5 separate regions of the Homo sapiens genome follow, and regions 2, 3, 4 and 5 are each linked to region 1. The links are contacts of gene promoters, found by promoter capture Hi-C in blood cells and fetal thymus (Javierre and others, 2016). All regions are on one chromosome and are shown on one strand. The core of a region is centred on a gene start or on the middle of the fragment in contact, and the rest is flanking DNA. Distances in the headings are between cores, read along the strand shown.

Region 1 (2,700 bases), core at 168-2,667:
GCTATATATTTAAGAGTACTCTGTTCATCTGGCCAAAATGGAGTTCCGAGTCCCTTGCTCAGCTGATGTTTGTTCACCCAGAAGATGGTAAACTCCTGAGACCAACTTCGCTTTGTTGTTCTCTTGTGGTTCCTTGACCTTGGAAATGTTTTTCTACAGGCAGAGTATTTCCCCCTGTTGGAATTTTATTTAATATTCTATCTTTGTTTCTACTTTAGAAAACATGCCACGTGAATAATGATGCCTCAGGCAAAAGAAATCACTCCAGCAGTACAATTTAAACTTAGGACAAATCCTGCCCTCACTTGCATTCACAATTTGCCAAGGCAGTTGGTAAGAACTGTGCCCACACACAAATTGACAGAATCGAGGCCCCAAGGTTAGCGATGATTAAAATTTAAAAGTCCATTCATTCATTTTCAAAATATTTTATTCGATTGCTTCTGAGGCAGAATCATGAGTTGCCTTCGCTTTTGCTGCTCCCGGTGGTGGCATCCAACTCTGAGGATAGCTCATCCAACTCTGAGGGTAGCTCTGAGGGGAGCTAAATATCCTCATTGTTCAATGAGCTAGATGAAAACAAAACGAGGCTGTAAGGTCAATCTCACAGCCTTAGTGGAGTAAAAATTAGAAGTCAATAATTCTCTTACCAACAAAGAGGACTTGCATTCAACAGGATTTTCAAAAGTGGTATCCTGTAAAAATTTTGGAAAATACCACCATAATGGAAAAAAAATAAAGTGGCATATAAATCAAATGTAGTGCTAAAAATTATAATTTTTCCATATGAATTTTGGAATCCTAAAATATTTTTATGTGTTTGTGGATTCATAAGGCATCAGAACTGGCTTTTTGCACTGAATATGAGTACAGAAGGCTTTCCTCTCCAATAGTGAATTAATAAAGGATAAGTAGGAAAAACGTTACGAAACGATGTGGTAACATTATAGACTCTGTATTAGGGCAAAAATTGTGAGATAGTAGAAGATCTGTAAATTTAAGCATGCACAATTTGACAGCGGATGGTCGTAGCATATTTTGTAAATTCAATAGCAAGCCCCACCACGCCCTTAAATGAAGGAAAGCAAGAAGACAATTTTTAATACGTACATGGCACCACACCCCTCTAAGACGCAGCAATGGGAGAAAAGCAGATTGGCGACCTGTGTGTGCAACATGAACCGAGTGAAACCATCGGGGAGGGGGTGGGGGGCGTTTCTTTTAAATGTCGCTTTTGCAGATAAACGAGCAGGGATCCTACCTCTTTTGACCGGAGATGTTGAAAAGCACGACCAAAGTTTTTGGCTTGGTCTCTTGCTTTCCACAACGAGATAAAGTCTGAAGCCTGTAACTCTCCCTGTCCCGCGGGAGCGTGCAAAGGGAGGGAAGATAAGCGGCGTGGGTGAGGGGTGGCGGCGCAGAACCCAGGAAGGGAGCAGAGGCGAGAGCCAGCCTCCGGCAGGAGGGCGTAGACCCCGGTGCCAGCCAGAACGGCTCCAGCCTTCCCGCGGCCAGAGAGCCAGCGGCGGGAGGGGACGGGCGGGACCTCCGCGGACAGCCCCGGGTGCGGACCAGCGGGCAGCGGCCGGCGAGACCCTCCCTGGATCCGCCCAGAGCTTACCGGACCCTGCGCGCCCCCGTCCCGGCTCCCGGCCGGCTCGGGGGAGAAGGCGCCCGAGGGGAGGCGCCGGACAGATCGCGTTTCGGAGGCGGCGCAGGTGTGTCAGGGGTGGGGGTCCGCTGGCATCTCTCGTGCCGGCGCTGGGGGGGTCTCCCGTGGAGGAAGGGCTGAAGGTGCTCCGGGAGGGGTCCACTCGTTATGGAAAGGAAGCGGGGCGCGGTCAGGGTCCCTCGTCCGCAGTGGGGGTGGTCCGGGCCCCTCAGCCTGCACCCGGGAGGAGACGCCCCCTTTTCACGCCCCGCCCCCGGTGGCCGAGGCCGGATTCGGACAGCTCGGGGTCAGTCGACGGAGCACACCGGGCGCCCGAATCCGCCGGGTCCCACTCACGCCCGCCGGCCGCCGGTAGGTTGGCCCTCCCGCTTCCAGCCTCCGCCACCCCATCCCTCGCTGCTCTCTGAGGAGGATTCCAGACCCCCCCGTAGATCTCCGCCCTCTCTCGGGTGGGGCTCCGAGGTCTAGCTGGTCTGGGGGTCAGTCCCGGCCTCTGTCTCCCACCGCGCCCCTCGCTCCCCTGGACACCGCCTGGTGTGTGGGGCTCAGACCCCCCCAGTCCACTGCCCCTGTGTGGCTCCTCCTCTCAGGAGAGGATTCTAGATCCCAGCCCGGGGGGGGTTCCGAAAATGCCGCCAGCCTGGAGCGGGGAATCCATGGACCGTGGGGTTGTGGGGTTGGGGAGCACGAAAACCCAGAGAGGGGCTAGAGCTCCACCTCCCCAGACCGCCGAGGGGCGAGAGGGCGCGCCGGGGGCCGTGGTTGCCATGGCTCCTGGTAGCGGAGCCCGGGGGGCTGGAGATGCCGGTCGCGGATGGTCCCTTCTTCCTCTTTGTGCCTCTCTCTTTCTCTCGCTTTTTTTTTTTTTTTGGAGTGTGAGTGTGCGTGGGGAGGCAGCACGGAGAAAGTGATTAATTTGGGGAGCAGGGATTGGAGCCGGGAGGCTGGGGAAAGCCAGCCCCTCCGTTCCCACTCTCCGGGCTCGCTGCGAGCCACAGTGTCTCAGCCAGGGGCAGGGCCGGGGAACT
Region 2 (2,700 bases), core at 149-2,648, 160 kb before region 1:
AATCCAGAAAGGAATTCCATTATTCCTAAACATCTTTACAGCTGGGCAAAGAAGATAAGTTGACTGGTACTGCCAGTAAGTGTATGGATTTTGAGATGATTGTTATGTTCAGGGATTTCAGGCTGAATAAAATTAATTCAAGTTGTTGCTAATAAATGTTGTATGAAATCCTCAAACAATGGAGATATCTGCTTTTATATCTATTCATCCGTCCATCTATCCACTCATCCATTCATCATTAATGGAGCATATATTTATTGAGTCTTCATTATGGTGCTTACTGTAATAACAATTAGGCACTGTTCTAAGTATTAAGAATATAACAGGACATAAGCATAGTGCTCTTGACTTCCTGAAGTTTAAAGATTGGGGGGATGGGAGGTGACAGGGACCAATTAGTAAATAAGGAGCTATGATACATTTTGAAATGCAGCGAGATAAGAGTACAGAAAGGTCCTATGAGAGCCCCTGAAGGGGCAGGAAACTCAGATCTAAGAGGGTGATCAGGCAACTTCCTGAAGGAAGTGGCATCTAAGCTGAGATCTGAAGCAGAGGGAAGGATAAAGAATATCAGACAAAATAGCAAAAACAAAGGCCAGGACACTCGCATATATAATACTTTTGAAAGACCTGAAAGAAGTTAGGAAAAACTGGATTATGGTGTGCAAGTTCGGGGTCATGGAAAAGTAGGCATGATAAGGTGCACCAGGGTGCAGTATGTGGAAGTGTCTTACTGATTAGGGAGTGGTGGTGATTACAATGGGTACTCTGATTTAGTTTTTTGGAATCACATTATTTTAAATTCATTTTTAAAAGTACATTCTCATTGTCTATTTATCAATGTATTTAATTTATATAATCTTCTTTTATGAAAAAGGATTTCAGGTGGTTTCTAAAATACATAAAGTATGATGCAACTGCATGAATTCAAGGGGGTGCAAGGATATGCACAAAGGAATACCACAATCATATTACAATGAATCCTCCTACAAGGCAGATTATACTGACCTACAAGCTTCATCTGAATAACACTAACCCTTGGAGGAAAGGTATGTTGGATTCTTATAATGTGAGAAGCAGGGTTCTAGCTGCTTTCCACCTGTATCTCATTTAATCCTCAAAGACCCTGCCACTCAAAGTGCAGTCCACAGAACAACAGCATCAGCGTCACCTGGGATTTGTGAGAAATGCAGAAACTCTGGCCTCATCCCAAATCTGTTGATTCATCTACATTTTAACAAGGCCCCGGGTGATTCCTGAACACATAAAACTTTGCCAAGAACTGGACAAAGAACATTTACCTTTAATGTGTTTTTCAATTTACAGGTGAGGACACCAGGCTTCTAAGAGAATAAGTAACTTGCCCAAAACTAAACACTTAGTGAGTGCAGGGGAAGATTTTGAGTTTACACTTTCTGACTCCAGGCACTTTTTTTCAGGAGTGGGGACGGTGGGGCAGAGTCTCATCCTGTTGTCGATGCTAGAGTGCCGTGGCATGATCCCGGCTAACTGCAGCCTCAACCTCTTGGACTTACGTGATCCTCCCACCTCAGCATCCGAAGTAGCTGGAACCACAGGCACGTGCCACCACACGCTGCTAATCTTGTTTATTTTTTGTAAAGAGGAGATTTCACCATATTGCCCAGGCTAGTCTCAAACTGCTGGGCTGCAGCGATCCTTCCACCTCAGCCTCCCAAAGTGCTGGGATTACAATTGTGAGGCATTATGCCAGCCTGCAGGCCCTTCTTGGTTTCTAAGTGGCATAGCCTCCCCCTGTGTTTGTAAGCTTTACGGCAAGCTTGGCCAACCTGTGGCCCACGACTTTGAATGTGGCCCAACATAAGTTTGTAAACATTCCTAAAACATTATGAGATTTTTAGGTGATTTTTTTAAAGCTCATCAGCTATCACTAGTGTTAGTGTATTTTATGTGTGGCCCAAGACAATTCTTTATCCAGTGTGGCCCAGGGAAGCCAAAAGAGTAGACATCTCTGCTTTACGGTGACCAGCCAAATAGGAAATATGGGCTTTTATGCAAAACACATTGTCCCAATGATTTTTTTTTTTAAGAGACCAGTTGCTCAAAAGAACAGCAGGGCAACTACCATCAACATTATCAGGAAGGAACTCTTCCCAGGGATTTATATAAGCAAGACTTTACATGATGCAATGAATGACAAGACAGGCAAAATCTTTCCACAAATGCTAGCTGATCAATCAAAACAATGTGATTTGATGGAAAACGACTTGGTTGGCAGTGATTAGCCAGACCATTTAGCTATCTCGGAAAGGCTGAAGCAAAAGTTGATTGGACAGCAGCAATGATGTAGGAGCTATTTCAGTTAGGAAGACAAGCTAATGACATCCAAGTCCCCTTCTGCCTCTCCTATGTTGAGTCCTGCTCAATGGCTCCTCCCAACATAAAAAATTACAAATTGATGTAAGCATTCATAAACCTAAATGTTTACAGGGATGGAATGGACTGAATTGTGACCCACGAATGTTTATTATGTTGAAAGTTTAACCCCAATATGACTGTATTTGGAGATAGGACCATTAAAGAGGTAATTAAGATTAAACGAGGTCTTAAGAGTGGGACCCTAATCCAATAGGACTGGTGTCCTTATAAGAAGAAGAGACACCAGGAAGGCACATGCACAGAGAAAAGACCATACAAGGGCACAGCTTGAAGGCAGCAAAC
Region 3 (2,700 bases), core at 199-2,698, 210 kb after region 1:
GGCCATTATGAACTCGGGTTCAATCCAATTTGCATCCACACACGCATATCTGTATACCTACAGCGTTGCACCTGCAAAGGTAAGTAAGTTACAAACCCTGTCCTCTAGATGAACCTGATCAGCAGAGAAAAATATCCTATATATGCAAATGACTGTAATGAATTAAATAGAATAAAAGAGCACAAAAGAGAGTAACTGTTTCTGCCCAGGTAGGATTTTGGAAAAAGAATCATCCATAAGAGATAAGCTAAGCCTTAAAGGATAAAAAGTATTGTGTTACTGTTAACCACTGGACAGAGGATGACCAAATGAGTGAGGGTGTGTCGGGCAAGGGAGGAATGGCAAGAAGTCTACTCTGAGCTAGGTAGGAATCTTTCGGGGACGTGTTAAACTGTCTCATTCTCCTTTTATCTTTCTCCACCTTCCCCTTTCTGCTACTCTCTCAACTTCTTAGTTCTTTTTTGTTGTAATGTCATCATTTTTCTCAGGTCTCCTGTATATTTCAGCCAACAGACATATTGTAAGTTCCAGGTTTGTATTGATTTTAGCACATGGGAAACCAGAGTTTATATTAAAGAAGAAATCTGATTGATCCTGATTCTCTCATCTCTGGATTCATTACTCTAGCAAGGGATATGGAGTATTTTCATTAGCTAATTGGTAGACATTTGGGCTTACCTGTACCTCCATTTTGTGGTATACTTATTTTTCTGTATTCTACTTAGTCAATACCCTTTTTATATTTTTATATTTCTTAATAAATGACTTTAAATTCTTTCCAGAATAAAGAACAATAAAGAGAAAGAAAGAAAGAGAGAAAAAGAAAAAGGAAGAAAGAATTTTGGAACTTCACGAATTGTGATCATTACTATTGTATTAGTTAGCAGTTGCCTCATAACAATAACCACCAATACTCAACAGCTTAAAACAATAAACATTTATTATTTCAATGTCCTCATAATTCAGGAATCCAGACATGGCTTAGATGGGTACTTCTGGCTCAGGACCTCTCATGAGGTTGCAGCAAGGTTTTGACCAGGGCTATGGTTTCATCTAAAGTTTCAGCCAAAGCACAAATCATTCCTAGGCCATTCGTGTGGCTGTTGGCAGGATATAGTTCCATACAGGCTGTTGAACTAAGGGCTTCTGTTCTTCACAGGCCAGAGGTCATTCCTAACTCCATACCACGTAGATATCTCCATGGGGCCATTCACAACATGGCAGCTGGCTTCCTTCAGAATGTGTGAGCCAGGGAGCAAGAGAGAGCACCCAAGTTGGAAGCCACAGTCCTTTTGTAACCTAATATTGGAAGTGATATCCCATCACTTTTGTTGTATTCTATAGGAACAAATCATTAAGTTTAGCTCACAACTCAAAGGAAGAGGATTATACAAGATACAAATTCCATGAGGCAATGATCATTAAGGACCTGCAACAACTTTTCAAAAGCTGAGGCAGGAGAATTTCTTGAACTCAGGAGGCGGAGGTTGCAGTAAGCTGAGATTGTGCCACTGCACTCCAGCCTGGGCAACATAGCGAGACTCCATCTCAACAACAAAACAAAAACACAAACAAACAAACAAGCAAAAAAAAATTTTGAAAGACAATATTAGCTCAATTTTACAGGCAAGAAAACAAAAACAATGCCTTGTCTAAAAACCCATTTCCCCACACCCTGCTGCTCCTTTATAAAGATAGCTAACATCTTCCTGTGCATTATTTCCTATGACATCCCTTTATAGTAGCTGATGTGTTTTCCAACCTCTTTCCCCCAAACTACATATTTATCAGGATAATTGTCTACTTTCCACATTATCCCAGGAGACACTTTTATAAGATGCTGTGCCCTTGCATAAGTCCTCATTCTTCTAGCTTCTGATAATCATCCCTTTTGTTATTTTTCTTTATTCTTTGTTCCTGATTCCTCAGCCGATGCCTCATTGTTTTTCTTGATTTGTTCTTGTAACTGCAATATCCTAATTCAAGAGCCAATTATCGTATCAGTCAGGGGAGCCTGTGTTATGCTGCTGTCAAAACAACTCCAAAAGCATTTTCTTTCTCAAGTTATGTGTCCCACAGAGATTGCCCTTTTCATCTTAATCACTTAGGAGCACTGGCTGGTGGACGAGCATCCAGGCTCCCCACAGCAGGGAAAATAGAATGTAATAAACTGAGCACTGGCTTTAAATCTTTGGCTCGGAAGAGACACATGTCACCTTTGCTCACTTTTTTTTTAAACCAAAGAAAATTCCATGGTGGCATATAACACAGAGTAGGCAAAGAAGTGCCATCCTGCTTTATTCCTAGAAACCTGACATACTTGATGAACAGCTCTGACAAATACCACAAATTATAAAGTGATATGTACATCCAAATTATATTTTTTCCAAATGCTTCATTGATCAAATTTGATAAAATCATTTTATATGGTGTATAGCTTCATAATGTAATACTAATTGGTACTTAAAAAAATCTTGATCCAAAATTTAGAAGATCATACCATTTGATAAGCATTTCACTAATGGATTTGCTTCTGTTCATGAATAAAACACCTACCATAAATATAGTATACTTATTTATGTTCTTAAAATACCAGCCATTTCTTTCTGTCTTAAAATGTAACAAACTTGAATTGTTAACTATATTAAAGAAAGTTATTTGGTTTCAAAAACAGAATGTGATTGATTTTTAAAAAAGAAC
Region 4 (2,700 bases), core at 24-2,523, 140 kb after region 1:
TAGTTGTGGTAATAAGACTCCTGTGCAGCTAGCTTGTCTGTAGGGAAGTGTTTCCATGATGGATTTCAACTGGGGAAGTTTTCAAAAACCTAGATGTGAATATATTTGAATGTCACTTATACCCTTGGTGTTAGTTGTTGCTAGAAATCTGTCTATGACACTGAATAATAAATGTGAAAGCCTAATGGAGAAGAGTGAAAAGATAGATGCTGTGATATGCTTGCTTTGCTGATGCAAATGGATTAATAGTGGCATTAGATAGAAAGGAAATTGATCTCATCTAGACTTGGTTATAATGGGATTTCCAAACATTCTTTTGTTTTTGTTTTTTTTTTTTTTTTTGAGACGGGGTCTTGCTCTGTCGCCCAGGCTGGAGGGCAGTGGCACAATCTCTGCTCACTGCAAGCTCCGCCTCCCGGGTTCCCGCCATTCTCCTGCCTCAGCCTCCCGAGTAGCTGGGACCACAGGCGCCCGCCACCACGCCCGGCTAATTTTTTTATATATATTTTTTAAATTATACTTTAAGTTCTAGGGTACATGTGCACAATGTGCAGGTTAGTTACATATGTATACGTGTGCCATGCTGGTGTGCTGCACCCATTAACTCATCATTTACATTAGGTATGTCTCCCAATGCTATCCCTCCCCTCTCCCCCCACCCCACAACAGGCCCCGGTGTGTGATGTCCCCCTTCCTATGTCCAAGTGTTCTCATTGTTCAATTCCCACTTATGAGTGAGAACATGCAATGTTTGGTTTTTTGTCCTTGCGATAATTTGCTGATAATGATGGTTTTCAGCTTCAACCATGTCCCTACAAAGGACATGAACTCATCATTTTTATGGCTTCATAGTATTCCATGGTGTATATGTGCCACATTTTCTTAATCCAGTCTATCATTGTTGGTTCCAGGACATTTGGGTTGGTTGCAGGTCTTTACTATTGTGAATAGTGACACAATAAACATATGTGTGCATGTGTCTTCATAGCAGCATGATTTATAATCCTTTGGGTATATACCCAGTAATGGGATGGCTGGGTCAAATGGTATTTCTAGTTCTAGATCCCTGAGGAATAACACTGTCTTCCACAATGGTTGAACCAGTTTACAGTCCCACCAACAGTTTGAAAGTGTTCCTATTTCTCCACATCCTCTCCAGCACCTTTTTTTGGCATTTTTAGTAGAGACGGGGTTTCACCATGTTAGCCAGGATGGTCTCGATCTCCTGACCTTGTGATCCGCCCACCTCGGCCTCCCAAAGTGCAAACATTCTTGAAATTCTGCTTAGCTAGACTGTTATGTGCAAGTTGATTCTGATCCCTTTGCAGAGAGGCCATTCAGGATCAAGTCCAGTCTTGTTGAAACAAAGTTAAGTGATTTTTGGTTTTGGTGTTGATGAAGTACCCATGTGAAATATATTGGCAAGATAAAGGAGTGTAATTACCTCATTTACCGAAAAAAATATTTTTTTAATTTACTTTTAAAAATATTACTGTTGTCCAAACTCAGCAATGCTAATGTTTGTCACCAGATAAACACAGTAAATGCCACTGGTTGGATTTATTTTTAAATGGAGTCATTTCTTTATCTGAATTGAGGTAGACTTCATGTTAGCTGCTGTGTTATAGTAATTAAAGTTCACATTTATCTGTGAGTGTTAAAATTTTCACTTTTTATCGTGCCATCAAACTCACTAAATAGTTTCAGAGTCAAAGGATAAGACATAAAAAATTCCTGAAAAATTAATGCCATTTATATATCTTCTAAAACCTTAAATTTATTGATGTATAAGTATGCGTCCCTGTTTTCCAATATTCATTTTGTATTTAGTTAAAAGCTGTTCTGAAGATTTATGGCACGCGATAGCAGTTTTGGTAGAGTTATAAATTTTCTTTTCTTTTTTATTGTTGGTGCCTTAGAAGCCAGTTGAATTACAAATTTACATTTTCAGAATTAGAATTGTATAATCTAGATTTAATTAATGCAAGGATGATAATGCTTCAGTGGCAGTACTATCTGTTCGAATTGCTAGGTTTTTTTTAACGCTCTCAGGGAGCAGCTCTCCAATTAGGGATTTATACATCTTATTAATTAACTACTTTACAATAGATATTATCCAGTGAACTGTGTATTCATATTAGGGACTGTATAGTTTGCTTGTTATCGAAGTGGATTACATGCCCTTTCCATTTTCTAATCCATATTTTATTTCCTCTGCTGCCTCTTGTATCTGAGTATAGATAGATTCACCAACTACCCAACAGCACCACTGACTTCAATGCCAGTGTTTACTGGGCTTAAGTTACAGCGAATAAAACTAAATAAGTGGTTCAATTTGGAGATTTGGGTACATAAACGTTTTGTATATTACTATGCCTTATGTCTATAAGGTGTACTTTCTGCAAAATGTTTTCCATAGCATTTGATGTCAATCAAAGCCGAGGCTTTACCAAATAGCTGGCATGATGTTTTATCTACAAGCTCTTAATGTAGTGAATATACTAAACATACTTTCCCGACTTTTGAGGGAAATTTCATGCTACCTATAGCAAAAATGTGATTCAAAGATGGTTGCTATTTCAAAAATGTTTCCAGAGACTTTCTAAAAGGAATCTTATAGAACGAGTTGAGCAAGAGGAAACCCACTAAAGGACTGTCACATGGCTGAATGTATAAAGAGAACCAAAGTCTGCCTTCCGA
Region 5 (2,747 bases), core at 26-2,525, 180 kb after region 1:
GTCTGTTACTGCAGCACACCATAGTGTGACCCCGTGTGTGATTTTCTGTGTGACCCTATGTGTGACAACTATTTGTGATTTTGACATGTGACAGAATTATCCAGGCTTCATGTTCAAATGCAATGGCCCTTGCCCCATCTCCAAATGTACTGATTTGGAACCTGGACTGAGGCTGGAACACGACATTTTTAATAAGTTCTTTAGGTATACCATACCTACCACATTTCGAGGACTAGTGAGGCACCCAACGTTGATTAATTGGAGGCACCTAAGATACATTTGTGAGACTGGAAACAAGGCATAGTGCAACCATGACTTGCCAAAAAAATTGGTAGCTTTCTTCTCTGGCCTGAAACACCCCGTGCCAGGGTATAAATCTTGGCAAGATTTCAGCTACTATGGGCCCTCGTGCAGGGCACAGAAGTCCTATTTCAAGAGGTTATTAAAGTATATTCTTTCATCTAAGAAGGTACATTTTTCAAAAATTGTCAGGATATGCAGTATTCTAATATTGTATCAAATGGACACCTGAGTAACATGACCTGACATGTTAATTCATGTCAAAGTTTTATTATGTCTAGAATTATGGTGAGATTCTTGATTAACAATTCAAGGTAATATTGGTTGGCAAATCTTTCTATTATTGGTGTAGGAATAAGGGCTGATTCTGTCTATAATCAAAATAACTATGTTTCATTACACTGCAATTTAAAGTAGGTTTATATAATTCAAAATTCTCAGCATTTTATATGAAATGTACATAAAAATATTAATTATGTGAGCCTCCTTTCCTCCTCACAAGGATGACACTATTTAAGTTATTTCAACAAAATGCTAATTATTATGAATACATTTTAAATTTTACGGAACTTGAAAAATACTTTAATAGTTATCTCAACAATGGTACGGGGTAAAAGGTGAAGTTTATAAAGAAGCAGTTTTCTCATAGTAAACCTGATCACAAATTGGTAAAAACAAATGATAAAAAGTGAGGTGAAATGATTTGCAAAAAGAAGTACTACACTGCCATCTTCTGTTCAAATAAGTCATATGCTTCAATTGCTATCTGATCTTAATGTGCATTGTACTTGGGAGTGGAGGGGCGGAGAAAAGAGAAACTTGTGAAAAACTGAGATTATCCGACTCCTTCTCAGGTATTCTGGTTCTGTGGAATGGAGATGGAATTCAGGAATCTGCCTTTGTAGGAAGCACTCCAATCGAGCCTATATAGGTGATTCCCTAAACATACCTTAAGAATTACTCAAATATATCTTGGCCATTGTGAGGTATGATGCACTCTTTAAACATGCCAGGCAACATACAGTTCCATCACTGACCCATGCAAACAGATGGTTAGATTTCATAATTTTTAATGTGATTTTGTTTATGGCTATGTAGACAGTTGTGTATGCTAGAATAATTCTTTATCTCCAGGTTTCAACTGTGGCATTCTCTAATCAAATTTGCATTGCATAAAGTCATCTTTCACTCTTAGATTGTTTTCGATAAGGAATATGCATTTTTAAAAGAATTGGGTTTCTATCATTTCTATTGTTTTCCTTCTCATCATGTACTCACTTTTTTTCTGATAGGATAATTATTGATGGAGCTAATTTGACCATATCTAATGTAACTTTAGAGGACCAAGGTATTTACTGCTGTTCAGCTCATACTGCTCTAGACAGTGCTGCCGATATAACTCAAGTAACTGTTCTTGGTAAGTGCACTAACTAATGAGAAATCTGTTCATTTCTTCATTTCTGATTAAATCCCATCGTTCCTGGCCAATAAAGCTAATGATTCTTTGAGCCCCTGCACATATATTGTTAGTTTCAAATTTTTGTTTAAAAAGCAACACAACTTCAAATCCTTTCTCCTTTTTTCATATAAAAGAAATTAATTAATGCTTAATTTTTTTTCCCTACATGTGTTAATTTGCCAATAGCAGTGGGAGGTAAGTGATGCTATCCGCAGAAAGAAAAATAAAGCACGCTTGAGTTCCTAGCACTCTTGAGCTACTCTTTCCTGGTGTACAAAGAAATGGGGCTGAGGAATGGAGGTGGGCTAGACTGGAGGATCTCGATAGGGGTCAAGAGGTGGATGCACGGTGGTCATCTCTAAACCAAAGGCACAGACTGAGTTCCCAGGGTTCCAGGAAGGATGGAGAGGAACTTCCAGCATTCTACAAAGGAATGTCTTTGATTTTTGTCGTTGTTGTTGTTGATGAAAGTACTAATCAGGAAACAGTGTGCACACTTCACTAGTATAATCAATGCAATTACTCCTGAAATCACCAATGTTTAAAGCTCTTAGACCATCTGCTGGATGTTTTCCAAAATTTCCCTTCCAGATTCACTCTCTACCAGCTCTTTGACCTAGAAAGGTTGCTTTTAAGGACAACATCAGCAAACCACTTTCCTTCCAGCTATTATTTGGTTCAGCAAGTGGAGGGCCGTTTGGAGTGTTGTACTGATTCTCCCTACTCCATCCCTGTGGACTGGCTGTGTCCCACTGCCAAAGTCATGGCTTCTGCAGACAGGGTCTCCTCACACCATTCCTTCTGATGAGGCTCTAGCAGCTGCATCCCACCACCAATATTTCAAGTCTCTCTCACACCCAACCTACTGAACATCCTGCCCACATCTTTTTAAAGACGTTTTATTAAAACATTTTGGAACTATCGTAAATTTGTGTGAGTTATTCATTGATTTTCTGCAGGGACCCTAACAGCTACAGACATTTGTTCT

Evidence for each region. The method cuts DNA at HindIII sites, captures the fragments that hold promoters and counts their contacts. A CHiCAGO score of 5 or more calls a contact.
Region 2: a contact is called between a fragment that was not itself captured here and the fragment with the promoter of CHL1 in region 1, in 2 of 17 cell types (naive B cells and total B cells). The highest score is 6.9, in naive B cells.
Region 3: a fragment that was not itself captured here is called in contact with the fragment with the promoter of CHL1 in region 1 in 1 of 17 cell types (naive B cells); the score reaches 5.0 in naive B cells.
Region 4: a contact is called between a fragment that was not itself captured here and the fragment with the promoter of CHL1 in region 1, in 2 of 17 cell types (naive B cells and total B cells). The highest score is 21.2, in naive B cells.
Region 5: a fragment that was not itself captured here is called in contact with the fragment with the promoter of CHL1 in region 1 in 2 of 17 cell types (naive B cells and total B cells); the score reaches 7.6 in naive B cells.

What each region holds. Positions count from the first base shown.
Region 1 is chr3:195,346-198,045 of GRCh38, forward strand. It overlaps CHL1 (cell adhesion molecule L1 like), which reads left to right and starts at 1,418. Exons shown (of 28, transcript NM_006614.4): 1 at 1,418-1,718. CHL1-AS2 (CHL1 antisense RNA 2) reads right to left here and starts at 1,996. Exons shown (of 4, transcript NR_144487.1): 1 at 1,622-1,996; 2 at 1,111-1,163; 3 at 651-695; 4 at 413-569. The HindIII fragment of the contact is 3,854 bases long and covers 1-2,700 here.
Region 2 is chr3:32,467-35,166 of GRCh38, forward strand. No RefSeq gene overlaps it. Among named protein-coding and RNA genes, the nearest start is that of LINC01986, 22 kb to the left of the region's middle. The HindIII fragment of the contact is 771 bases long and covers 1,014-1,784 here.
Region 3 is chr3:401,997-404,696 of GRCh38, forward strand. The region is part of intron 27 of CHL1 (cell adhesion molecule L1 like); the gene reads left to right. Among named protein-coding and RNA genes, the nearest start is that of CHL1-AS1, 18 kb to the left of the region's middle. The HindIII fragment of the contact is 3,393 bases long and covers 1-2,700 here.
Region 4 is chr3:336,867-339,566 of GRCh38, forward strand. The region is part of intron 5 of CHL1 (cell adhesion molecule L1 like); the gene reads left to right. Among named protein-coding and RNA genes, the nearest start is that of CHL1-AS1, 48 kb to the right of the region's middle. The HindIII fragment of the contact is 3,244 bases long and covers 1-2,700 here.
Region 5 is chr3:376,226-378,972 of GRCh38, forward strand. CHL1 (cell adhesion molecule L1 like) reads left to right here. Exons shown (of 28, transcript NM_006614.4): 16 at 1,593-1,717. The region is part of intron 2 of CHL1-AS1 (CHL1 antisense RNA 1); the gene reads right to left. Among named protein-coding and RNA genes, the nearest start is that of CHL1-AS1, 8.2 kb to the right of the region's middle. The HindIII fragment of the contact is 5,236 bases long and covers 1-2,747 here.